Linked DNA regions of Homo sapiens: all the other regions are linked to region 5. Evidence: promoter capture Hi-C in 16 types of primary human blood cells and fetal thymus (Javierre and others, 2016). All regions are on one chromosome and are shown on one strand. Each heading gives the region's core, a stretch centred on a gene start or on the middle of the fragment in contact. The rest is flanking DNA. Distances are from core to core; before and after follow the strand shown.

Region 1 (4,292 bases), core at 1,150-3,649, 160 kb before region 5:
TGCTCTATGTCTCATAGGTAGCAAGTAATAAGCTGATAACTGAATATAGGTATCTGTTAGAAAGCCCATGTTCTTAACCACTACACAGTAGGTTGTGGGTATATTGTTGCATTTCCAAGACAGTGACATATTCTAACACAGAGTTTTCTAAGGGAGTTTGGGGGTAGAAGTGGGGAGACTCACAAAGTCATCTATTTCTCATATAGCCTGGGAGAAAAGGAAGAAGCAAATGAAATAATACATATTAAAGTTTTTAAATATAATAAGGTAGCATTTGAGAGTAAGAAATACCTGACCATTTTGAGAATCTGGTGACCCTTTCCCCCAGAAAATATAAACACAAATAGAAACACAAATTTTGTATATACTTTTAGAAACCTTTTAGAGAGTCTACATGAACCTGGGACTCCCACATAAGTGAATAAATATAACTTATTGCATTTGATTGAATTACTACTGAATTGCCTTGCCATTTCTTGTAGAATGAGTTAAAGATATAGAAACTTATTGTTTCTTTTTGTGACACGTTGTTATAATGAAATCTTTATCTTAAGATTTCTGAGACCAAAGTGGCATACTTATTAAAGCATAGTCACTACCAGTTTTTTCAAGTATAAAATTTAAAATTAAACATATAAGATAATTCTTCTCAGGCTCAAATTTTAAGTCTATTATCATCCCCTTTTTGTGTGAAAGAAACTACATTCGAGAAACATTAAACTTTAAAAATCTAGGAGGTAAAGCAGAATAAGATGCAAGCAGTGCTATTAGTCCTTATTTATCTAGTTGAGAAACCTACAACTTCTGAGCATTTGAAGGCCTACTAAAAATTGTCTAAAGGATATAAATTATGGCTGAGTCTGCTGTTGCATCTCAACATTTTAATTTTTAAAGAATAAGTTACAATTCTTCGACTATCTTTCATGCTTTAGAAATTCACAGCAACCAGAAACAGAATCGGAATTTTCAAGACTGGGTGAAACTTTATATTGTAATCTTAACATATACATATCCAATTTGTGGCAGCACCAGAATTTCAGATCTCTAGGTTTCTAAGTCCAATACTTTTGTCTAGAGCTGGCGGGTTGTGTTCAGAGAAGGTTTTAAAAAATTCTTCCTCACCGTAATGTTGGTATAGAGAATGGGGTAAAGGTATGAGAAGATAATACAGCCAAAAATATAAAAATATATGTAACTGTCATATATTGCAAAAGTACTATACTGGTCTGATCATTACTAAATCTAAGTGTCTTTATTTCAAGAATTTTAAAAGCTGTTTTTTTCTTAGTGACTAATACAATTCAACTTCTTCTTTCTTTAAAAAATAAAACCTTAGCCTCAGTCCAAGGAGTTCCTCTAGAATCATCAAATAATGATATTTTCCTCCCGGTCAAACAAAAGATTCAGTGCCAGCAGGAAAAGAAAGCACCACTGCACAATTTAACTTACGGTAAACTATTTTTGGTTTGTTTTCAGTTTGTTACTTAAGTATATTGTTAAATGTTCTAGGTAATTACTTTCCTTGTGTGGGCATTAAACTTTAGCTGTGGACAAAAGCTTGAATCGTAAAAGAGACACTCAGAGAAAGACTGGGCAGGAGGGTGGAACGTTCCTAACCTAAATTTATCTCTTTTAATTTCCTGTGATCCTTCTATAATTGTTTTGTTTTGTTTTGTTTTGTATTTTTTGCAGAACTTCCAACTCTGAACCAAGAACAGGAAAATTTTTTGGCTGTAGAAGCCCGAAACAAGACATTAACTAGAGCTCAGTTGGCTAAACAAATTTTTCACTCAAAGGAGAGTATAGTTGCAACCACTAAATCCAAAAAGGACACGTTTGTTTTAGAAAGCGTTGATTCTGCTGATGAACAATTTCAAAATACTAATGCTGAGACTCTCAGTACTAATTGTATTCCTATTAAAAATGGCAGCCTGTTAATGGTTTCTGATAGTGAGAGGACAACAGAAGGGACTTCGCAACAGAAAGTTAAGGAAGGAAATGGAAAAACAGTGCCTGGAGAGACAGGTCTTCCAGGTTCCATGAAAGATACATGTAAAATTGTACTTGCAACACCAAGACTTCATATAACAATACCTCGGAGGTCAAAAAGAAATATTTCAAAGCTTTCTCCTCCAAGAATATTTCAAACTGTTACAAATGGACTTAAAAAAAATCAGGTGGGAAAACTTTTAAGACAGATATTTATTTCTATTTTTACCCCGTTCTTCAAGAGCTTGAGCTTTTAATGTTCTCTCATTATTTTTTTTCTAGCTAGGATTTGAACCTGTATGCTTCATTATTAACAGTGTCTTCATTATCATGTTTTATTATTTACTGCAGTGACAGTGTGACATAGTGAAAAGAACAGTGAGTTGAATGTAAGAAGACCCACATGTTAAGTCTTATTTTGCTCTATTACTAGTTGTGTAGTCTTCAATAATTTACTTGTTCCTTTTGGTGATGAACATTGAATTCATTCCTACTCTTTTTTTTCTGATACTTACAGTACTATTAAAATAGTTAGATTAATTAAGATAGAAAGGAACTGTAGCATCTGAAGATTTGAGAATTTTTCCCAAATTAAATACAGAGTAATCAATGAAAGACTTTAGAGCATTAAACTGTTACATTAGGACAAATTCTCTGAAGGAAGTGGAATGGAAATACAAGCTTAAGGAGGAAGATGCAGTGTAAAATTTCCAATTGTTAGAGGTTTGCCCATTAATTAATTAATTATTTTTGAGCTGGAGTCTTCCTCTGTCACCCAGGCTGGAGCACAATGGCGTGGTCTTGGCTCACTGCAACCTCCACTTCCTGGGTTCAAGCGATTCTCCTACTTCACCCTCCTGAGTAGCTGGGATTACAGGCGCCTGCCACCATGCCCAGCTAATTTTTGTGTTTTTAGTAGAGACGGGGTTTTACCGTGCTGGCCAAGCTGGTCTCTGACTCCTGACCTCAAGTGATCCTCCCGCCTCGGCCTCCCAAAGTGCCGGGATTAGAGGCGTGAGCCACTGCATCCAGCCATTAATTCTTAAATGTATGATGGTGGTTATCAAGTTGAGATCATGTATAAATTCCATCTAAATTTTAATTAATAATTAATTTTTTAAATGAGGCCTTACTCTGTTGCCCAGGCCAGCCTTTTGGGCTCAAGCAATCCTCCCACTTAAGCCTCCCTTGTAGCCATCTAAATTTTAAAGAGTGACATACCAGTTATGGTTTTATATCTCAATATATTCGCTAGAAATCCCATTATTGGAAAATATTTAAACTTTATTTATTTATCTATCTATTTATTTATTTATTTTGGAGACAGAGTCTCACTCTGTCACCCAGGCTGGAGTGCAGTGGCACAATCTCAGCTCATTGCAACCTCCGCCTTCCAGGTTCATGCAAATCTCCTGCCTCAGCCTCCTGAGTGGCTGGGACTACAGGCACATGCTGCCATGCCCGGCTAAATTTTTTTTTTTTTGGATTATTCTCATTAACATATAAACATGTTGAAACATGGCCTGCATTTTTTAAAAACATGCAAACAAAGGCCCATCTTTCCTTTATCCCCTGTCCAACTCCAGCTGCTACACTACTTTTTGTTTCCCTTATATAGCAAGACATTTGAAAGAGGTCTGTGTATTCATGGTTGGAGTTGAGAAGAATATTCTGTGCTGGAAACATATTGGAGAGCTATCAGCATAGAGATGGAATTTAAAACTATGACACTGGAAATACAGCCTAGAGAGTGCGTGTAGGTAGGGAGAAAATTGAGGGGGCAATTGAAAGGGCAATGTCCTTACCACCTAAAGTAAAAGGAAATGATTACAGGTGTGAGCCACCACGCCTGGCCCCAAAATGTCTTTCTAAAGAAGTGTTACGCTTTATATTTTGTATTCCAGGATCGTTCCTGATTTTCTGCTACATTGCTGCCCATCCCTTCTCAGTCCTCTTTGCTATTTCCTCTTTCTTTCCCCAGAATCAGTCCTAAAAATGTTGGAATTACTGCAGATCAGCCCTAGAAATTGTTTTTCTACCTACACGCACTCTCTAGGCTGTATTTCCAGTGTCATAGTTTTAAATTCCATCTCTATGCTGATAGCTCTCCAATATGTTTCCAGCACAGAAAATTCTTCTCAACTCCACACTCATGTGCAGTTGTCTATATGACTTTTCTATTGATATCAGATAGGCATCTCAAATTGAAAATGTGAGAAAATGTGAGATTCTTATTCTTGATTTCTTTACCATACCTTCTCCATTGTCCTGTATTAGTACATTGTAATACCATTGGCCCCAGT
Region 2 (4,269 bases), core at 1,361-3,860, 210 kb after region 5:
ATTTTTTGACGGTTTTAAGATGTGTTTTGTGTTGTAACGTATGGTCTATCTTTGAGAATTATCCATGTGCTGAGAAAAAGAATGTGTATTCTGTAGTCATTGGATGAAATGTTCTGTAAATATCTATTGGGTACATTTGTTCTAGAGTGCAAATTAAGTCCAATGTTTTTGTCTTGATTTTCTGTCTGGAAGATCTGTCCAGTGCTGAAAGTGGGGTGTTGAAGTCTCCAGCTAATACTGAATTTGAGTCTCTCTCTCTCTTTAGCTCTAATAATATTTGTTTTACATAGCTTGGTGCTCCAGTATTGGGTGCATGTATATTTAAAATTGTTATACCCTCTTGCTGAATTGACCCCTTTATCATTATATAGTGATCTTCTTTGTCTCTTTTTATAGTTTTATCTTGAAATCTATTTTGTTTGATATAAGTATAGTAACTCCTGCTCTTTTTTTGTTTTCCATTGGCATGGAGTACCTTTTTCTATCCATTTATTTTTTTAGTCTACATGTGTCTTTATAGGTGAAGTGTGTTTCTTGTAGGCAACAGATCAATGTTCTTATTTTTATATACAGTTAACCAGTCTATGTCTTTTTTTTTTTTTTTTTTTTTTTTTTTTGAGATGGAGTCTCACTCTGTCACCCAAGCTTAAGTGCAGTGGCATGATTTTGGCTCACTGCAACCTCCACTTCCTAGGTTCAAGCAATCCTCCCACCTCAGCCTCCTGAGTAGCTGAGACTATAGATGTATGCCACCACACCTGGCTAATTTTTATGTTTTTAGTAGAGATGGGGTTTCACCATGTTGGCCAGGCTGGTCTTGAACTCCTGACTTCAAGTGATCTGCCCACCTCAGCCTCCCAAAGTGCTGGGATTACATGCATGAGCCACCCAGCCCAGCCTCAGGCTATGTCTTTTGATTGGAGAGTTTACTTCATTTACATTCAATGTTATTATTAATAAGTAAGGTCTTACTCCTGCCATTTCATTATTTGTTTTCTGGTCTTTGCTTTCTTCTTTCCTTTTTTCTTGTCTTCCTTTTAGTGAAGGTGATTTTCTCTGGTGGTATGATTTAGTATCTTGCTTTTTATTTTTTGTGTATCTGTTGCATGATTTTTGATTTGAGGTTACCATGAGGCTTAAAAATACTATCTTATAAACCATTATTTTAAGTTGATAACAACTTAACAGTGTTTACATAAACAAGTGAAAAGAAAACTAATAAAAACTTGACACCTTAACTTCCTCCCCCTGCTGGGGTTTTTTTTTTTTTTTTTTTTTGAAATGGAGTTTTCACTCTTGTTGCCCAGGCTGGAGTGCAGTGGCACAGTCTCGGCTCGCTGCAATGTCCGCCTCCTGGGTTCAAGTGATTCTCCTGCCTCAGCCTCCTGAGTAGCTGGGATTACAGGTATGCAACAACACACCCAGCTGATTTTTATTTGTATTTTTGTAGAGACGGGGTTTTACCATGTTGGCCAGGCTGGTCTCAAACTACTGACCTCAGGTGATCAACTCACCGCAGCCTCCCAAAGTGCTTGGATTACAGGTGTGAGCCACTGCACCCAGCCCCTCCCCCTGCTTTTTAACTTTTTGTTGTTTCTATTTGTAGCTTACCATACTGTCTGTGACTTAAAAAGTTGTAGTTTTTTTTCATTGTTTAGTCTTTCTACTTAGGATAAGAGTAGTTTACACACCACAGTCATATTGTTATAGTATTCTATGTTTTTCTATGCACTTACCCGTGAGTTTTTAAATTTTCAGACAATTTCTTATTGCTCATTAACATCCTTTTCTTTCTGATTTAAGTACTCCCCTTACCATTTCTTGTAGTACAGGTCTGGAGTTGATGAAATCCCTCAGCTTTTGTTTGTCTGGGAAAGTCTTTATTCCAGCTTCATGTTTGAAGGATATTTTCGCTGAATATACTATCCTAGGAGGAAAGTTTTTTCCTTTGGCACTTTAAATATGTCATGCCATTCTCTATTGGCCCATAAAGTTTCTACTGAAAAGTCTGCTGCCAGACATATTAGAGCTCCACTGCATGTTGTTTATTTTCTCTTGCTGCTTTTAGTGTCCTTTCTTTTTCATTCACCTTTGGGAATTTGATTATTAATTGCTTGGAGGCAGTCTTCTTTGGGTTAAATCTGCTTCATGTCTTATAACCTTGTTGTACTTGGATATTGATTTATTTTGCTAGGTTCGGAAAATTCTGTGTTATTGTCCCTTTGAATAAACTTTCTAACCCCCCTCTTTCTCCACCTCTTCTTTAAGACCAACGACTCTTAGATTTGCCCTTTTGACGCTATTTGCTTTTGAGACGGAGTTTCGCTCTTATTGCCCAGGCTGGAGTGCAATGGCATGATCTTGGCTCACCGCAACCTCCTCCTCCTGGGTTCAAGCAGTTTTCCTGCCTCAGCCTCCCCAGTAGCTGGGATTACAGGCATGTGCCACCACGCCCAGCTAATTTTGAATTTTTAGTAGAGATGGGGTTTCTCCATGTTGGTCAGGCTGGTCTCGAACTCTCGACCTTAGGTGATCCTCCCTCCTTGGCCTCCCAAAGTGCTGGGATTACAGGCATGAGCCACCGTGTCTGGCCGATGCTATTTTCTAGATCTTGTAGGCATGCTTTATTTTTTTTTTTAATTTCATTTGTTTCCTTTTACTGTCTATTTTAAAATAGCCTGTCTTTAAGCTCACCCATTCTTTCTTCTGCCTTTTCAGTATGTCAATTGCATTTTTCAACTCCAGAATTTCTTTTTGATTCTTTTTATTTAAATATCTTTCTTCAGTTTATCTGATAGAATTCTGATTTTTTTTTCTCTGCTTTATCTTGAATTTCTTTGAGTTTCCTCAGCACAGTTATTTTGAATTCTTTGTCTGAAATGTTTCATGTCTCTGTTTCTTCAGAATTGGTTCCTGGTGCCCCATTTAGTTCTGGGGCCCCATTTAGCCTGGTGAGGCCATGTTTTCCTAGATGGTCTTGATGCTTGTGGATGTTTGTCTGTGTCTGGGCATTAAACAGTTGGGCATTTATTGTAGTTTACACAGTCTGGGTTTGTTTGTATCCATCCTTCTTGAGAAGGTCTCCCAGCTATTTAAAATCACCTGGGTGTCATGGTCTAAGCTGTACTGGCATTAGGAGGCACCCCAAGCCCAATAATGCTATGGTTCTTACAGACTCATAGAGGTACCAACTTTGATAGTCTTGGATAAAATCTGGAAGAATTCTCTGGATTACCAAGTAGAGACTCTTGATCTCCTCCCTTACGTTCTCTCAAGGAAATGGAGTTTCTTTCTCTGTGCTGAGCCGCCTGGAGCTGGGGGTGGGGTAACATAAGTAGCCCTATGGCCACCACCACTGGAATTATGCTAGGTGAGACCTGAAGCCCACACAGTACTGAGTCTTGCCCAAGGCCCACTGTAACCACTATCTGGCTACCACCTATGTCTTCTCATGGCCTGGGGGTCTACAATGCACAGGTGGTGAAGCCAGCCAGGCATATGTCCTTCCCTATAGGGCGATGAGTTCCCCCAGGCCCTGCGGGGGTCCAGAGATGCCATTTGGGAGCCAGGGACTAGAGTCAAAAAGCTAGGTGTCTACCTGATGTTTATTGTACTGTGGTTGAGGTGGTGCTCAAACCATAAGACGTGGTCCTTCTCACTCTTCCCTCCCCTTTCCACAGGCAGAGGAAGCTCACCTATGGCTACTGCCACTACAGGTCCACAGGGAGTAATGCCCGGCTACCACTGATGTTCATTAAGACCCAAGGGTTCTTCAGTCGGCTTGTGGTAGATGCTGCCTGGCCTGGGACTCACCCTTCAGGACAGTGGGCTCCCTTCTGGCCCAAGGCAGGTCCAGAATTACTGTCCAGGAGCCAAGGCTTTGAATCAGGGACCTCAAGAGCCCGCTTGATGTTCTACCCCACTATGGCTGCGCCTGTACCTAAGGTGCAAAAGTCCCCTTTACTTTTCCCTCTACTTTTCTCCAGCATAAGGAGTCTCTCCCCATAGCCACCATGGCTGGAAATGTGCTGAGTCTCATTTGAAGCCAGCTAGTCTCAGAGTCTCACAGAAGGCCCACTGCATACCTAGGTATCGCTGGTATCGCTGGCTATTTGGAGCTTAAGAGCTCTTCAATCCTCTGACATCTTGATTGCAGCCTTTGAGAGACCCTGGGCCAGAGGATCCAGCTATTGCCATGCTTAAATTTCCAACCCAAATGTAACTGTGAGATAAATGTTGTTTTAAGCCACTAATTTTTTTAATTACTGT
Region 3 (4,264 bases), core at 32-2,531, 200 kb before region 5:
TACATCTGAGTTTCCTTGACCTTGCACTTCCCTTTTAATTTCATTCTGTTGTTTTATATTCTTGTCTTTTAAACTTTCATTTCACTGAATTTCTATTTGTGAAAAATTCTTCTACAGCAAGAGACATTAACAAGGAAACAGTTTCTGTTACAGAAATTATTATTTTTCTTTTCCTTTTTTTTTTTTTTGTTGACAAGGCTGGAGTACAGTGGCGCGATCTCAGCTCACTGCAACCTCTGCCTCCTGGGTTCAAGGGATTCTCCTGCCTCAGCCTCCCAAGTAGCTGGGATTACAGGCACCCACCACAATGCCCGTCTAATTTTTTGTATTTTTAGTAGAGACAGGGTTTCATCATGTTGGCCAGGCTGGTCTCAAACTCCTGACCTCAGGTGATCCACCCGCCTCAGCCTCCCAAAGTGCTGGGATTCTGGGATTACAGGCATGAGCCACCACACCCAGCTTTCTTTTTTCTTTTTTCCTTTTTTTTTTTTTTTTTTGTTTAGGCAGGGTCCCACTATGTCACCCAGGCTGAAGTCTAGTAGCATGATCGCAGCTCACTGTAGCCTCCAACTCCTGGGCTCAAGTGATCCTCCTACCTCAGCCTCCCGAGTAGCTGGAACTACAGGCATGCACCACCACCTCCAGCTAATTTTTGTACTTTTTGGTACAGATGGGGTTTTGCAATGTTGTCCAGACTGATCTCAAACCCCTGAGCTCAAGGTATCCTCCCACCTCGACCTCCCAATGTGCTGAGATCACAGGCATAAGCCACTGCGCCCGGCCAGAAATTATGATTTCTTATAGATGATTTCATCATTTCTCTTTCACATGTATGTTTCTCTCAGTCTCTCTCTGACTCTGTCTCTTTACATTTGTCTTTTTCTGTAGTATTTTTGCAGAGTTTTATGCCATTTCCTTTCATCTTGCATATGCTTATATAGGCAACACTGTACAGACATTATTTGCTCTAATATAGTGTGTTTTGCAATCATTTTTACTTGTTTATACACAGTCTTTCATAAAGGTCATGCCAGAAGATTTAACTCTGCTAATGTCTGTAAGAAGAAAATAAAAAATAATCCTTTTAAACATGACACAGTGCTACACATATTACACTGATTTACTGTAATTTATTTATGGTGGGCACTAAGATGTAGTGGTTAGGAGAGCCGGCTCTGGGACAAACTGTGTAGGTTTAAACCTGTATATCTTGGACTACTAAATCATTTAATCTATCTAAGCCTCAGTTTCCCAGTCTCTAAATTGGGACTAATAAGAACACCCAATCTCATTGTTAGGGGGAACAAATGAAACAAAGCATGAAAAACACGTAGGAGGCACTTCATATTTGTTAAATTAATAAATGAATACATATTCTCCAAATAAAACTTTTAAACATTACAATATATTTTCAGTTTCAGTTTGAATAGCTTGATTCTAAATTTGGCTAAATTTATGAATCAGTGCCTTTATTAGTTTTTGATACAAGTGCAGCTGTCTCATGCAAAGATGTACGTTTTAAACAGCAGCAATATTTTTGCTTGATGCCATTGAGAAATTCAAAGAGGCGGCTTGCCATCTAGTGGAAACCTGTTAAATTCCAATGCTTCTTCTGAGTCTGGCAAATTCATAGATTAAGGTAAATTGTTCATTTTAATATGTTCTAGAGAAACTTCCTTTATATACCTTGTTTGTGCACATTTATAGGAGGGAAATGCCCTGTGGTAGAACAAAATAATAATACTACTAACAGTAATAATAATCAACTTGAACTGTCCTCTGATCGAATGGGATTGGCTTTACAAGATAACATATATTTCATAGCATTCTCAAGTCAGACTTGAAACAAAATTCCAGAAATTAATTAGCAAGAGAAAAGGCATACTTGTTTAAGAGATGTCAGAATTTCTTTCACAGTGCTCATGTAGAAAGGCCATGAATGGCCGGGCACGGTGGCTCATACCTGTAATCCCAGCACTTTGGGAGGCCGAGGTGGGCAGATCACGAGGTCATGAGATCAAGACCACCCTGGCCAATATGGTGAAACCCCGTCTCCACTAAAAATACAAAAATTAGCTGGGCGTGGTGGCGCATGCCTGTAGACCCGGCTACTCGGGAGGCTGAGGCAGGAGAATCACTTGAACCCAAGAGGTGGAGGTTGCAGTGGGCCAAGATCGCGCCACTGCACTCCAGCCTGGCAACAGAGTGAGACTCCGTCTCAAAAAAAATAAAAGAAAGAAAAAAAAGAAAGGCCACGAATATAAATGGCCTCATGCTCCCAGGTCTGTTTCTGATTTTAAGGCCCAATTTCTTTGTTTCCATGAGTAACTTCCTTTTCTTCTCCCTACATTTATCTTTTTTTTTAATATAAAAGCCTGATCAGAAACTTCCAACCTATTTCGTCCTCCTAAAGCATTTCCTTTTACTATCAAAAGATATCCTAAACAATGTTCTTTTTTCTTAACAGATTGGCAGGTTTAATAAGTATTTCTGGGTTAAATATTATTCCTTTAATCACCACAGAGCTAAAACCCTGAAGTAGCCAAGTCTTATGAAACTACCCCATATCTCAAGAAACAAATTACACTGGCAGGGTCGTGAGCTGTGGCAATGATGTACAATTCTTGGGTCAAAAAGGTAACCAATCTACATGTTGAGTAAGGTCCTCTCTCTAAAAAGGTTCAAACTTGACAAAGTTATGGATGATAATTCTTAAAAGAGGTAAGTAAGTGGATTCCATAAAATTATTTGAGAGGTTAATGGTTTTAAAATATAATGAAGCAAGAGCTATGGTTAGGAGGGAAAAAAATGTATTGGTGAGACCAGGGAGAGAAACACATTTGGGCAAAGCATGTATTAGACGATGGTTCTAAGAACCTTCTGTCTTTTCAAAGCAACTTTTGAGTAGGGCTATTTTTGACTTTCATCTACATACTGAGCTGATCCATCCATAAACCAAGCTTGAGTTTTTTTCTTTGTGCTTTGGGTAGAATCCTCCATAGAACCACAGGCATGAGATGAATGAAAGGGCACTGTTAAAACAGTGATAGGTGCCATGGGGGTCTGTAATACCTACTCGTGAAGCTTGTTTGAGCCATCTGGTTATGATTATACTTGCTCCTAAATGTACCAACTCCATCTTGCAATGTACTGTTGCTTGGGCTATCTGACCTTTCTATTTGGTAAGTCTGATAGGACCCAGCTCATGATGGGAATTTATATAATATATACATGGTTACTTGATACTCCATGGTCAGGCATCCTGTCTCCACCAGGGTTCAGGAGCACATCAAAAGGTATATCATTCTCTACCAAAAATGGCATTGCCTTGCTCCAAAAACCAAGGGACTAACATTATAATTTGCCCACTGGGACTTGCAACAAACTCCACATAGAATCTTGTCTTATCACTTACACCTTTATGATCATAAATTCTGCTAAATTGTATGACCCAAGTGACAGGGCTGCTTGCACCCCAGCCTGGATCTGTTGCTATTTCCTACTCCTGATCTGATTTAAAGTTGGCAGCATTTTATGTCATCCAGTATGTTGGCTGGAGAAGTATCCCTAGGTGTAGAAATGTGCTGCCTCCAGAACTCAGAGGCCCATCAGGGATTGTGCTTCTTTTTTAATGTAGGAGATACGAGATGCAATAATTTGTCTTTTATGTTAGAGGATATATACAGGCACAGCCCTGATCAATAAACCCCTAAAGTATTTACAGATGTAGCAAGCACTTATATCTTCATAGGGTTTGTCTCTCACACACTACAGCATATCCTGCCATTGCCTCCACTGTGCTAGCCCTCTCCTGCAAATCCAACTCAATCAAAATAATGTCATCAAAGTAATTGATCAGTGTAATGCCAAATGTCAAGAGGGTCCAGATCTCTTCAAACTGTATTATGACAGAGGACAAGAGGACTAAAAACAGCCCTGGGACAAACCTATAAACAAATATTATTGTCCATTCCATATGAATATAAACTGTTTCTTATTCTCTTATCTAATTGGAAAAGAACACATTTTCTGACCTTATCCTTAGCCCAGTGAGACTGATTTTGGATTTTTATCCTCCAGCACTGCAATAAAACAGATTTGTGTGGTTTTAAACTATGATGCTTGTGGTAATTTGTTACAGGAGCCATAGGAAATTGTTACAGCTAGAAATCTAGTTGATGTATGTCCCTGCCTACCACATGATGTTAAGCCATGAAGTCTCAGTCTTGGGTCTCATAGGAGATACATAAACTCCACTACAACA
Region 4 (3,926 bases), core at 1,145-3,644, 180 kb before region 5:
TTCTTTCTATGTACCTTTTCCCAACATTGCATTAAACACCCTTGAAGCCACTAAAAAAGGTGAAAACTCACATCAAGACCAAAAACTAAGACTAATAGATATTTCAATGCTGGATCTGGGATAAACAATACTTAGTATAAGACAGATGGAATTTTTCTGTGAAAAGCACTTACACTCTGCTTCATGAAACACAGATTGCCTGAAAAGGAGTTAGAAAATAATGCATACTTCACTATCTGTTTCTGAAGTCAGGGATATGGTATCTCCATCAACTAGAAATTTAGAATGCTATTCTTCTTTTTAAAAAGGGCCAGTCCATGAGTTGACTGTGTCTCTCCTCCATAATGTTGAGAGACAATTCTCCAGTGATCTTTTGTGTTTCTGTATGTCTCATGAAGAGGCACTGACAGCTTTTGTTCCAGACTATCTTTTCAAGGATGTTTGTATGGAAAACAATCTTAGAAGATAAAAAGTTGAGTCTCCCTCTAAAGCAGAGCGTATATTTGTTTCCTGACCATGATAGTAAATGTGTCTCTAATGAAATATTTTTGTGAAAACTGACCTAATCGAAAAGAGATATCATAGATCTCACTTTTAGGAGCAAGTAAGCTAATAAATAAGCTGATTTGTTTTGCAAATCCCAGAAAGTTTCAGGAATTGGAGGCTCCAGATACATCTGAAGGCAAAGTGTAGAGTTGAGCTTAAAACAGAAGAAATGGTTGAAAGTCTGTATTTAAAAAAAAAAAAATCATTTCTCAGTCCTCTTTCCTTAGCCCAAAATTTGGGGACACCTTTTGCAGCTGATTAATTAAGAGGTGATTAATTGAAAGTCTTTATACTAAAAGGTGACACCCCTAACCCTCTTCCCCAGTTTGTCTCACAGAACACCAGTTAACAGATTTATACTCTGTTTGCCTCTCCTGGTCCTTTCTCTGCCATTCTCTCCCTGGCTCTGAGAAATTGACTTCTGTGGACTGTATCAGCTAGGCTCCCTTAGCCTCTGGCTTGCATTTGGACTCAGCCAATGAGAGCCACCAGCATAAGATTGCAGGGTAAAAGGAGAGATGGGTTGAGCTTTTATTCTCTTTCTCCCCTTCCCTTGCAATTTTTGGCAGTGACTGCACTTCTCTACTTTCAGATACAGCAACTGTTGGACGCCCTCTCACACACAACTACAGATCATTCCAAGTTCCAGTATACTGTTAGGCCTAGGAGAGGTAATGGCTTTCAGCTGTTTTTAGTCCTGGAGTGTTTACCACCTCTTGATTGTTCCTGTTTGTGAAGGTTTAGTAATGTTTCCCTCATTAAACTCTTTTCAAGGAATCCTTTCATTGCTCTTTGCAATTTCCCCTTTGAGTGATCCATCTGTTTCTTTTTTTCTTTTTTCTTTTTTTTTTTTTTTTGAGATGGAGATTTGCTCGTTGTCCAGGCTGGAGTGCAATGGCATGATCTCGGCTCACCACATCCTGTGCCTCCCAGGTTCAAGCAATTCTCCTGCCTCAGCCTCCCGAGTAGCTGGGATTACAGGCATATGCCACCACGCCCAGCTAATTTTGTATTTTTAGTAGAGATGGGGTTTCACCGTTTTGCCCAGGCTGATCTTGAACTCCTGACCTCAGGTGATCTGCCCACCTCAGTCTCCCAAAGTGCTGGGATTACAGGCGTGAGCCACTGTGCCCGGCCAGATCCATCTGTTTCTTATAGGCCCACAAAGTCACATACCCTCTGGCAATTTTGCAGGATGCTTCTACTGGACCACCTGAACAAGCCCAAGAGAAAGGCCTACAGAGGTTTATTTCTAATCAAAAGGGAAAAGCATGAACAAATGCCCATAGGCATGAAGCAGTTAATTGTGTTCCAGGAACTAAGTGCTACTAGGTGTTACATGTGAGGTGGGGAGTGAATGGAGAGTAGGCCCAGAAGAGACAAATGCCAACTCAAAAGAGCATCTTGTAACTCATATCAAGGATCTTGGAGTTTACACCGTAGGCTCTGCAGAGGCACTGAAGGATTTCAAGTTTCAGTTTCAATCAATGCTGGAATAAAAATGAAGGAAAATGTAGGCAAGGCTAGAAGATGGAAGACATAAAGACATGACAGAGACAAACAACTGCAATGGTTTCAGTGAGAAATATTGAAGGCCATGATTCAGACTGTGGTGAAGGAATGGAGGAAATGGACAAAAAATTAGCAGCTATTGGGAGGCAGAATAGGTGAATGAGGGAATAGGGGGGAAACAGTCCCGATTGGCTCTTGGGCCTCTTACTTAGCAATGGATAAACAGCCTTTCACTGAGATAAAGTGTAGAAGATGACAGAATTTAAGAATGAGATTCACTGGCGGAAGGAAGGGGGTGAGGCGGGAACAATGATAAAGAGTTCTATTCTGAAAATGCTGAGCTGGAAATAGCTGTGGGAAATGTGGGTGAAATTGTCCCTGAGGTGCAAGGAAAGAGCTTCCCTTCAACCCACTGGTCAGTGTAGAGGGCATTGAACTCTGAGTTTTCCCCTCCCCCAATGAGGGAAACAAAATACAAATCCACAGCAAAAGAAAAACGTAAACAAACAAACAAACAAAAACAGAGCAAATCTGCCTTTGATCTTAGCATGGTAGTGGGCAACAGCCAAAACCAGAATAAAAGGCTCCCTGTGTAGATACCCATTTGACCACAAGATGGCATCAGAGCTAAGCTGCAGGAGAGCCCTAGTCAGAACCTACCTCAGTGCATCAAAGCCATCGCTTAACTGTTTGTTTTTGTTAGCAAGGAAGGGCTGTTCACTGGCAAAAAAAAAAAAAAAAAATTACTGAAAAGAGACATTTAGAATATTCTAAAACAAATTATACAGACTATACAGTATGCTCTAGGAGCTGGTAATATGGCACGTGATGAGCTGACTAGAGAGTCAAGCAGGTGCCTGTTTAAATTGGACATCAAGGGCTGTGGGATAGCAGGTGTCACATAAGCAGACAACTTCAACATAAACCACAAGGTTGGCCAGTGCGGTGGCTCACACCTGTAACCCCAGCACTTTGGGAGGCTGAGGCAGGCAGATCACTTGAGGTGAGGAGTTCGAGACCAGCCTGGCCAACATGGTGAAACCCTGTCTCTACTAAAAATACAAAAAAAAAAAAATTAGCCAGGTGTGGTGGAGGGCACCTGTAATCCCAGCTACTCGGGAGGCTCAGGCAGGAGAATCACTTGAACCCGGGAGGCAGAAGTTCCAATGACCTGAGATCATGCCACTGCACTCCAGCCTGGGTAAGAGTGAGACTCTGTCTCAAAAATAAAAAAAATAAAACTACAAAGTATGAAAGGTGATCCAGAAGTTAGGTCAATTGGCATAACAATCAGAAACAAGAACAAAAACACTAGCAGGTTTATGTATCACCAGGCATGACCTCAGGCCTCACCCCAGGTGGTTGTTGAAGAGGCCCAGATATTATCCCCAGGTCAAATATTAGATTAGACATGGGCATTCTGCCCTCTTGGCCTATAATAAATACCCCCACAAACACTGCAGTTGAGTCACTCACTGTGAAGCTAGATGAGTTAGCAAGAAAAAAACCATGTCAGTGTTAGCATCTCATTCCTTCTTCCCCAAAATTATATGTCCTAGGAGTCATCTCAGCATGGAGAGGAGATGGAAGCAGCAGGAGTAGAGAGAGACTTACAGTATTTCCCCCAAGATTGGGAAGGGGATATAATATTGAGATTTCTTTGAGAGGCAGGAATCTGCAGGGGCAGAGTAGGCCAATATATTTTCAAAGTAGCCACTACTTAGAGAGAGAGAGAGAGATTTGACATACCACACTCAAAAGTAGGAACTGGGAAAATCAAGCCATCTCCTATGTATCTCCTAATAATTTGAGACTCTTTAATAAAAGAATTCCATTTCTTTGAATTCAAGCTAGCTTCAGTATGCCTT
Region 5 (4,481 bases), core at 1,084-3,583:
GATAGGCACAAAGGACACAAGTATAAAATGAAACATAACATAAAGTGAATAGGCAATATATAAAAAATACATTTATCATACCTTTCACTTTTAGTATAATTATGACGTACATTAAGTATTTCAGTGACAATTATGCCATCTTAAAATTTAAAAGGTCTTTTGGAGGATGACTTCAATTACTAACACTTAATTAAAAATGGGACATTTGGGCCGGGCACGGTGGCTCATGCCTGTCATCTCAGCACTTTGGGAGGCCGAGGCAGGCAGATCACCTGAAGTCAGGAGTTCTAGACCAGCCTGGCTAACATGGTGAAACCCCGTTTCTACTAAAAATACAAAAAATTAGGCGTGGTGGCGCGCATCTGTAATCCCAGCTACTGGGGAGGCTGAGGCAGAAGAATGACTTGAACCCGGGAGGCGGAGGTTGCGGTGAGCCAATAGCGCCATTGCACTCCAGCCTGGGCAACGAGAGTGAAATGCCATCTTTTGACCTAATACCTTTTTTTTTTTTTCTGTATGCCTCTTATTCCTGTAGAGGTACTTAAAAATTATACCATTGACTATTCTTTTTCATAAACACAGCAATATATAAAAATCTGAAGTCATCACTAAAGACTGAAAGGAGTTTTGGGTAGAGCAAAACAAGTAGCTTTGCAATAAGCAAATCTCATCCACAAGGCAATCTGGAGATTTGGGATGTAAGAAGAAAAGAGACTATCATAACCACTGGTTTTGGCAGCTGTTTTTAAGGGCTAAGTAGTCACACGCCGACTTTTTAAAGTCTCTACATATTAAACACTGTGTTCCAGAAACTAGATTTTGTATATGTATTTACATAAACGTCTACATCAATCTTCGGCTTTTTGGAAAACGTACCATTTGGCTGGAACTACACTACCTTCTTCCTCCTTCGGCTATTTTTAATTTTTTTTGAAGTCCTATCTTCCATGTAGATTTGTTAAAACATACCACAGAAAACAGCACATACAATTTTTATCATTTGACTTTTAAACATCTTCTTTCTTATTCAATTATAAGCAAGGAAAAATATTCTGAGACTTTACACAAATAGTGTCTCATACCACCTATGAGCCATCTATGCTCAACCCCTACTTCAAAGTTCACAATCTAAGTACTAGTCCTCTTTAACAGAACTCCTTTCCATCACTTTATCCCTACTAGAGAGTGAACAGTGGAAAGTTCCAACTTTTGCAACTCTAGAATGAGGTTATAAATCTAGAGGGAGGAGGAAAACCTGACAGTAGACGCTTGTTCTTTTCACTCCATTCAAGCTCCCATACAGCCTAAAACACTTAAGTTTCAACATGAGCTTCATACGTCCCTGTCCAAAACTTGCTTTCTCAAGCCTCACGCTTTCCAGCTGTAGCAAAGTTTATTTCTGAACAGATTAAATCAGTTGCTAAATAATCTGAAGTCCTCAAACAGAAGGCCATATGAGTATCAAACGAAAAAAACAACATTTGAATCAGCATAAATTCACATGGTATTATGGCATCATTACTAATACACTGAGCAGTATTATTTATTAACTTCAAGTATTAATTAACTTAAAGATGTGATTTTGGAGAAAAACACCAGTGGTGGTCTCTGATTACCAAAGTTAAACATTCTTAAGCACAATCCCTTAAAAAATCCTGCCAGGATCAATGATGTGTTTTTTCTGTTTTAAAGTATCCTGCCAAAAGCTGTGGGTGCTGTGACTTAGGGTCGCAAAAGTGTTGCTTATGTAGTCAGAAGACAGAACGTGCCCTACAAGGCGCTCACATGCCTTAGTAATAGAACGTATATTATCTTCCCAATCCTCTGGCGGCTGCAAATGTGCTCCTTCCACTTCCAGCCACCCCAGCCGTGTTCCAGCTCCGGGAGAAGCAAGGGCTTTAGAATTACCCCCAAATATCTTCCTAAATCCAGGCGAAGGAGGCCCACACTTCTCCACCCTACCTAACGCACCCCTCAAGTGAAACGTTTGGTCTAAGAAAAAAATACCTTGCACCGCTCCACCCAACAGGTGGGAAGGAGAAAGGAATGGACAGCTGAGCGCTGAATCCGAGCCAGGCCTCAAACAGGGCGGGAGAGGGAGGCCGCGGCCAGAGCGCGGCCTGAAACCCGGCAGGCCCCTTTCAGTACCAAGTACCACCCTCTGCCCCAGCTAATTTCAAGGAGCCCGCCCCAGCAGACCTTATGATGGATGCCACTTGATGCCATGAGCCGGAGCCTGTGACGACCTAGCCGAAGATGGCACTTCACCGCCTCCGTCCCCACAGCCAGCACAGCAGCCGCCACCCGCGCCACGGCCGCCTGGTCCAGGGCACGATGCGCATGCGTCAGTGTCCCTGGAGGCGAAAAAGTCACGTGGGTTCGCAGCGCGCAGGCCTGGCCCTCCCAGGGATCCTCGCTGCCCGTGCGGCCCCAGCCCCGCCCCCGCAGCCCCGCCCCGCCCCGCCGCGAGCGAGGGCGGGGACCGCTGCGCCTACCTGCCTTTCCCTCCATAGGGACTTCCCAAAGGAAAGGAGGGCGTTTAGGGGCTTTCACACGCCTGATCTTAAACACAGCGCCCTGACCCCTCCCCACCAAAAACGGCAAAATGTCATTTTTGGGGGCAAATCTAAGGTTTTCCCTACAATTGTTCAAGCTTTCACACTAAAACATTTACCTAAAAACGGGCAGAAATTCAGCCTTAAACCCACAAATCTCACGATGGTATAGACCCTGGGCCCACTCAGGTTTCCTGAAAACTAAACAGTTCTGGAGTTAGGGGTTTGGAGAACGGGCTATTGTTAAAGAAAAAAGTATTTAGTGACACTTGTTAAAGCACAAAAAGAGGGCTTTATTCAGGACCATCGCAACAGGTATAGGGACCACTGACTGCAATGGAGACTTGCAGTAGGGAAAGAGATATTGGGCTCAACTCCTCATACAGCATGGGCAAGTGGAGATTTATAGCCAAGGAGCGGTGGTAAGTGAATGTATAATTACTAAGAGGAAACATCAGGGTAAGGGGGATTTTGGCTAAACCCACCTAATAGGATTTTTGCTGAAGACAGGCCAAGATAATGAGGCATCACCTGGGGGATGGTGGAGACTGAAGAACCTGATCAGATATTGAGGATGATCAGCTATCAAGGATGGGGGTTTATTGCTAATCTGACTTAGCAAAGTTCTTTGCTTAAACTGGATTTTACAAAGAAAGTGTACAGAAGAGCCTAGCAGAAGATTCAGAAACCTGACTAAAGTTGGCCAAGCAAAAAAAAAAATCTTTGTATCTGAAGGGATATGTTATCCTCTGGACAAATTGAGGGGGACTGTGCGTTAACAATCTTAGCAGTCCTCTTCAGTTGTACCACCATCTCCACTTTAATAAAAAAAAATTTTCTTTCAAATCTGGCCTCTCTCCCTTTAAGATTCTGTTACATTGGTGCCCCCGCATTCACCTGTCACTTACCATGTAATCTGTTGTTCCAGGTGCATTAGTATTACTACTGGGCTCCAAGTTCCTCATCTGAAATCTGTCTCCTCTGGAAATACTTATTTACAAGACGACGTTTCTTGTCACAACGCAGGTTAATCATAAATCCTCTCACCAGCACCTTTCGTTCGAAATACCAAATTCAGTCTTTTTTCCTACCTTTTACTTGCATCACACTGCACCTAGTAGTAGCTTTCCCTTTCCATTTGCCTCTTCTACTTTCCAAGCTAACTTTTTTGGATTCTCTGACAGTGTGGCCATGTTTTTTGTTTGTTTGTTTCACAGGTTTAAACAGCAGCTTTTAAATGTTTACTGTGGGAAGAATAGTCAAGGGAGTGGTGCGTTGGGAAGACAGACCAGAGTTTGCTGCTGGCACTGTTACGCAGGGACTGTTTGGCATGACCTTCACTCCTTTTCTGGTTCTTTGGTCTTTCTAAGGTGGCCTCAATTTCTTTATCAGTAAATAAGATTATCTCTGAGATGTCATTCACTCAAATAGCCATTTTATAAAAATCTACTTGCATCTTCAACTTCATTCACTGTGGATTCGTTGTTTTCCTTTATCTAGTTTTTACATTTTACCTTTCAAGCCGGTGCTATTGCTCTCACTCCCCCGCTTAAAAACCTCCACTGGTTTCCTCCTCCACTTTTTTTTTTTTTTTAAAGAAATCCTAAACTTTTAGAATGGAAAATACGGTGTTTTCATAATCATGCCAGCCTTCTCACTGTTTCTGCCTCCCCGTAACTCCACAGAACCTACTGTTCCCACAGCCCTTTTATGCGTGGAAACCTTTAAGTGGGCTCTTCTCTTTGCCTAAAATGTGATCCCCGCTGGCAGAAACATACATTATCTTAAAAACTGATTTAGCCGGCAGGGCGTGGTGGCTCATGCCTGTAATCCCAGCGCACTTTGGGAGGTCGAGGCGGGGAGATCATGAGGTCAGTAGTTCGAGACCAGCATGACCAACATGGTGAAACCCCATCTCTACTAAAA
Region 6 (4,362 bases), core at 1,699-4,198, 150 kb after region 5:
TATGTGTGTAAGATTCCCCCAGCGACATGTAGCTATAGTTTGTTCCTTTCATTGCCATGTAGTATTCTTTTATATGATATGGCACAATTTATCCATTTTATAGTGGATAAACATTTGGATTGTTTCCACTTTGGAGCTGTTACAAATAATACTGTAGTAAACACTCTTGGACATATATGTATGCATGCCTTTTTCATCAGTAGAGTTGCTCAGACAGGACACATAAAGTACACTTTAACCATTCTTTTGGTGGATGATTGTGTTGTGCTTCTGTGAACATTTGTGTATATTTATCTAGATGCAAAATTATAATAGACATTCAGAAGAGTAGATATATAGGAATGTAATTACTGAGTCAGGACACATGTATCTTCAACTTTTTTAGATAATGTAAAATTGTTTTCCAGAGTAATTTATACAAGTTTACACTCTCACCAACGGAGTATGCATTTCTTGCTACACATTCTTGCCAACAATTATTATCTGACTTTATATTTTTTGCCACTTTGGAAGGTGTGTCATGGTTTATTGTGCTTTTAATTTTTGTGTCCCTGATTACTAATAAGATTAAACATATCTGTCTTTATGGGCCACTTTGGTTTTTAAATTTTATATTTTTTCTGCTTATTCTTTAGTGTGGAGATGTACTTTCCTCAGAATGACTCTTGGATTGGTTTGGCACCCCTAAACATTCCTCGCTATGAATTTGGAATATGCGTTTTAGACCAAAAAGTATATGTTATAGGTGGTATTGCAACTAATGTGCGTCCTGGCGTCACTATCAGAAAACATGAAAATTCAGTGGAATGCTGGAATCCTGATACAAATACTTGGACTTCTCTAGAGAGAATGAATGAAAGCCGAAGTACTCTTGGAGTAGTAGTACTTGCAGGAGAACTTTATGCCTTAGGTGGTTATGATGGACAATCTTATTTACAATCTGTAGAGAAGTACATTCCCAAAATAAGAAAATGGCAACCTGTGGCACCAATGACGACAACAAGAAGTTGTTTTGCTGCAGCGGTATTGGATGGAATGATATATGCCATTGGTGGGTATGGTCCTGCCCACATGAACAGGTATTTAACTTAATAATTAAATTGCATATGTTTATGGATTTTTAAAAGTCTCATTAGCAATGATTTCTGAGTTTTAAACAATTTGTGTGTATGAATGAACTTCCGGCATTTGGGAAACTTAATCTGCTCCATGGATATAATTGTAATTGTTTTACATGGGAATTTAATACAAACCTAACAATCAAATCCCTCTCATTAAATTTTACATTCATTCACTATAAATGGACTAGATTTTAAAACTCAGAAACCTAAAAATAAGATGAAGTTAGACAACTTTAGATTTTGTGTGGTGTGTACATCTATGTGCACAGTATGTAAATTATCTTTTATTGTATTGCTTAATAGAATAAAGAAGTAGAAATTTAATTCCTGTGTGTCTATACAATATTATAGCACATCATAAACTTAAAACCTTATTTAAATATTCCTTTCTGAATTCTTTCCTGTAATCATACATGTATCATCAGGTATTTGACTTGTGCTGGAGTTTGAATTTGTGATATCTGTATTCTGTAGTTTTATCTGAATAAAGGAGAAATATATATGAGAAAATAAAAGTATGAAGTAACTAGTTATATGAGAAATTAATCGTAATTCTGAACCTTTATTGAAAATTGATGTTCCAAAGGTTTTATCTTTGGCCAGGTGTGGTGGTTCACGCCTGTAATCCTAATACTTTGGGAGGCTGACGTGGGAGGATTGCTTGAGCCCAGGAGGTTGAGGCTGCAGTGAGCCTTGAATGCACTACTACACTCCAGCCTGAGCAACAGAGTGAGACCCTGTCTCAAAAAAAAAAAAAAAGAAAGAAAGAAAAGAAAAGATTGTATCTTTAATAGTAATTAGAGTGGTTTGTGTTATTTTGATTGTGAGTATTTTAATGACAGGGCATACAGTCAGCCCTCCATATCCACGGGTTCTACATCCACAGATCCATCCAACTGTGGATCAAAAATATTTGAAAAAATTTACAATAATAAAAAACAAAATAATACAGTATAACAGCTATTTGCATAGTATTATAAGTAATCTAGAGATGATTTAAAGTATACAAGAGGATACGTGTAGCTTATATGCAAATATTATACTGTTTTATATAAGGAACTTGAGCATCTGCAAATTTTGGTATCCTTGGGATGGGGTGGATCCTGGAACCAATCCTCTACAAATACTGAGGTTTGTTGACTGAGAAAGTGATGGCACAACAGCATTTCATCTGTAAATTTTTACTTCTATTGAAGCCAAAGTATTCCTCCTTTTATTTATTTATATTTTTTGCCCTTAGTTGAAGGAAAAATATGGGACATAGACATGCATTTCTATTCTTTGAAAAGCTTCTGCCCAAAATTTGTAAGATAAAAGGTTAAGTATTTTAAATTTGATTATCTTGAAAGTCTTGCTGCAGTGCATCAACTCTTCTTCAATGATTTTGGTCTAATGGATTCTATCCTGGAGTTCTTTCAGAAACATTACCCAGTCTCTATTATGAACTCCAGAATGGTGTCACAGCCTGTTAAATGCTTATGGTTTTTTCAGGAAATAGGTTAGGGCCAGAACAAGCCCAACAATCTTACCTCTGTGCCTTTGTGCACCTTCAGAGGAAACCATAGTCTTAAACAGCTGCTAGAATTTTCTAGGGAAGCCTTTTTGAAAATTCTGATTTAATTTGGATTCCATAATGCAGCTTAGAAATGCCACACGTTCTCTGAAACACAGTCTTGACTCAAATTCCTGAGTACTCCTAAATCACCCTGAGATAATTATGATCAGCCAGTTTGTACTATGCAATCTACAGTGATTGCTTTGCAGTAAGCCACATGAATTCTCCTGTGACGAAAAAAAATAAAGGTTTTTCTCCCCACCCCCCACCCCTCTCTTCCTCTTCTTTTCCCCTTAACTGTATAGAAGATCCTAAAAACCTCTGTATTCAAGCCAGGCATGGGGGCATGTACCTTTAGTCCTAGCTACTCAGGAGGCTGAGGCAGAAAGATCACTTTAGCCCCGGAATTTGAGGCTGCAGTGAGCTCTGATCTTGTCACTGCACTCCAGCCTAGGTGACAGAGCGAGACCTGCCTCAAAAATAAATAAATAAAATTTAGGAACAAAAAAAAAAAGTCTGTATTCAGTTAGTGGTTTTCAAAGTCACGTGCATACTCATTTGACTTTATTCTTATATGAATCCCTTCAGGTTGCACTATCCTCATTTTTGCAGGTGAGAGGAAATGACTTATTCAGGATTACACAAATCCACAGCAGTAGGGTTAAGGTTCGTTCAGCCCTAGGTATACAGAATTAGTACTTGAACCCAGGTCTTCTGACTCCAAGTTCTATGCTCTTAATATACTTTGCCGCTTGCACAATATAATGGAATAGCATATGGAATTGCACCTTGTTTACAAGGTAAGCTTTTATCTTTGCAATCTTATCAGCAAAACCTAAGCATTTGTGGCAGACTACTCTTGTTTAATATCTCTCTATTATGTGAACTTTTAAAGCTGTAGTGGGTTTTAGTTTTGCTTTGACAGGAAGAATGACACAAAAGATCTGTAAATTAAATTTTTTTTAAATATTTGCAGTGTGGAGCGTTATGATCCAAGTAAGGACTCCTGGGAGATGGTTGCATCCATGGCAGATAAAAGGATTCACTTTGGCGTGGGTGTCATGCTAGGCTTTATTTTTGTGGTGGGTGGACATAATGGAGTCTCACATTTGTCCAGCATTGAAAGATACGATCCTCATCAAAATCAGTGGACTGTGTGTAGACCAATGAAAGAACCTAGAACAGGTAATAAGAATTTATTAATTTCTAAACATGTAAGGCAATGTTTTCTATAATGATGTGCTTGCAATAATAGTTCCTTGGAATATAGCAGTAGGAATATTACTTGTCCAGAAAAAAAAAAAAAAAGACTTGTATGTGGTAAACTTGAAAGACAATTAGCTAGACAAAAGTATATAGATTTCTTTATTGTGACTTTTATATGCCAATGTGCATATTATTGTTTCTCAAACTTGCTGAATACATTTTGGGAAATGCTTATACTAGAGTGTGTATTTATAGAAGCTCCTTTTGTCCATGTAACAAATGTCATCTTTTCATATGTTACATACATACAATCCTCGGATTGTTCTGTTTTGTTTTCTATTGTATATCAGTAATCTGTATGTTCACTTTCAAATGTTCTTTCTTCCCCAGGGGGTATAGTTGATCAAAAAGGGTTGTATTTCAGAGTTCGTAGAAACAAAACAAATCCACTTTTGTGGTTTAGGAAAAATTGTTATCTTT

What was found. Contacts are between HindIII fragments. The CHiCAGO score rates a contact against its expected background, and 5 or more counts as called.
Region 1: a contact is called between a fragment that was not itself captured here and the fragment with the promoter of PRPF39 in region 5, in 17 of 17 cell types (total B cells, monocytes, total CD4 T cells and 14 more). The highest score is 18.4, in total B cells.
Region 2: a fragment that was not itself captured here is called in contact with the fragment with the promoter of PRPF39 in region 5 in 2 of 17 cell types (total CD4 T cells and monocytes); the score reaches 6.6 in total CD4 T cells.
Region 3: a contact is called between a fragment that was not itself captured here and the fragment with the promoter of PRPF39 in region 5, in 3 of 17 cell types (monocytes, M2 macrophages and total B cells). The highest score is 8.5, in monocytes.
Region 4: a fragment that was not itself captured here is called in contact with the fragment with the promoter of PRPF39 in region 5 in 14 of 17 cell types (neutrophils, total B cells, naive B cells and 11 more); the score reaches 11.5 in neutrophils.
Region 6: a fragment that was not itself captured here is called in contact with the fragment with the promoter of PRPF39 in region 5 in 17 of 17 cell types (activated CD4 T cells, naive CD4 T cells, total CD8 T cells and 14 more); the score reaches 20.7 in activated CD4 T cells.

What each region holds. Positions count from the first base shown.
Region 1 is chr14:45,239,919-45,244,210 of GRCh38, reverse strand. MIS18BP1 (MIS18 binding protein 1) reads left to right here. Exons shown (of 17, transcript NM_018353.5): 3 at 1,337-1,450; 4 at 1,693-2,177. Among named protein-coding and RNA genes, the nearest start is that of MIS18BP1, 11 kb to the left of the region's middle. The HindIII fragment of the contact is 547 bases long and covers 2,126-2,672 here.
Region 2 is chr14:44,876,912-44,881,180 of GRCh38, reverse strand. No RefSeq gene overlaps it. Among named protein-coding and RNA genes, the nearest start is that of DORIP1, 18 kb to the left of the region's middle. The HindIII fragment of the contact is 3,926 bases long and covers 648-4,269 here.
Region 3 is chr14:45,285,123-45,289,386 of GRCh38, reverse strand. No RefSeq gene overlaps it. Among named protein-coding and RNA genes, the nearest start is that of MIS18BP1, 34 kb to the right of the region's middle. The HindIII fragment of the contact is 3,362 bases long and covers 1-2,962 here.
Region 4 is chr14:45,267,481-45,271,406 of GRCh38, reverse strand. LOC107984674 (a long non-coding RNA gene) reads right to left here. Exons shown (of 4, transcript XR_001750746.2): 3 at 2,719-2,778; 4 at 1,698-2,036. Among named protein-coding and RNA genes, the nearest start is that of MIS18BP1, 16 kb to the right of the region's middle. The HindIII fragment of the contact is 6,569 bases long and covers 1-3,926 here.
Region 5 is chr14:45,081,968-45,086,448 of GRCh38, reverse strand. PRPF39 (pre-mRNA processing factor 39) reads right to left here and starts at 2,333. Exons shown (of 14, transcript NM_017922.4): 1 at 2,200-2,333. It overlaps PRPF39-DT (PRPF39 divergent transcript), which reads left to right and starts at 2,423. Exons shown (of 2, transcript NR_184211.1): 1 at 2,423-2,977; 2 at 3,062-3,401. RefSeq lists a silencer at 2,339-2,628. The HindIII fragment of the contact is 5,294 bases long and covers 1-2,655 here.
Region 6 is chr14:44,930,832-44,935,193 of GRCh38, reverse strand. It overlaps KLHL28 (kelch like family member 28), which reads left to right. Exons shown (of 5, transcript NM_017658.5): 3 at 636-1,079; 4 at 3,653-3,861. Among named protein-coding and RNA genes, the nearest start is that of KLHL28, 29 kb to the left of the region's middle. The HindIII fragment of the contact is 1,071 bases long and covers 2,413-3,483 here.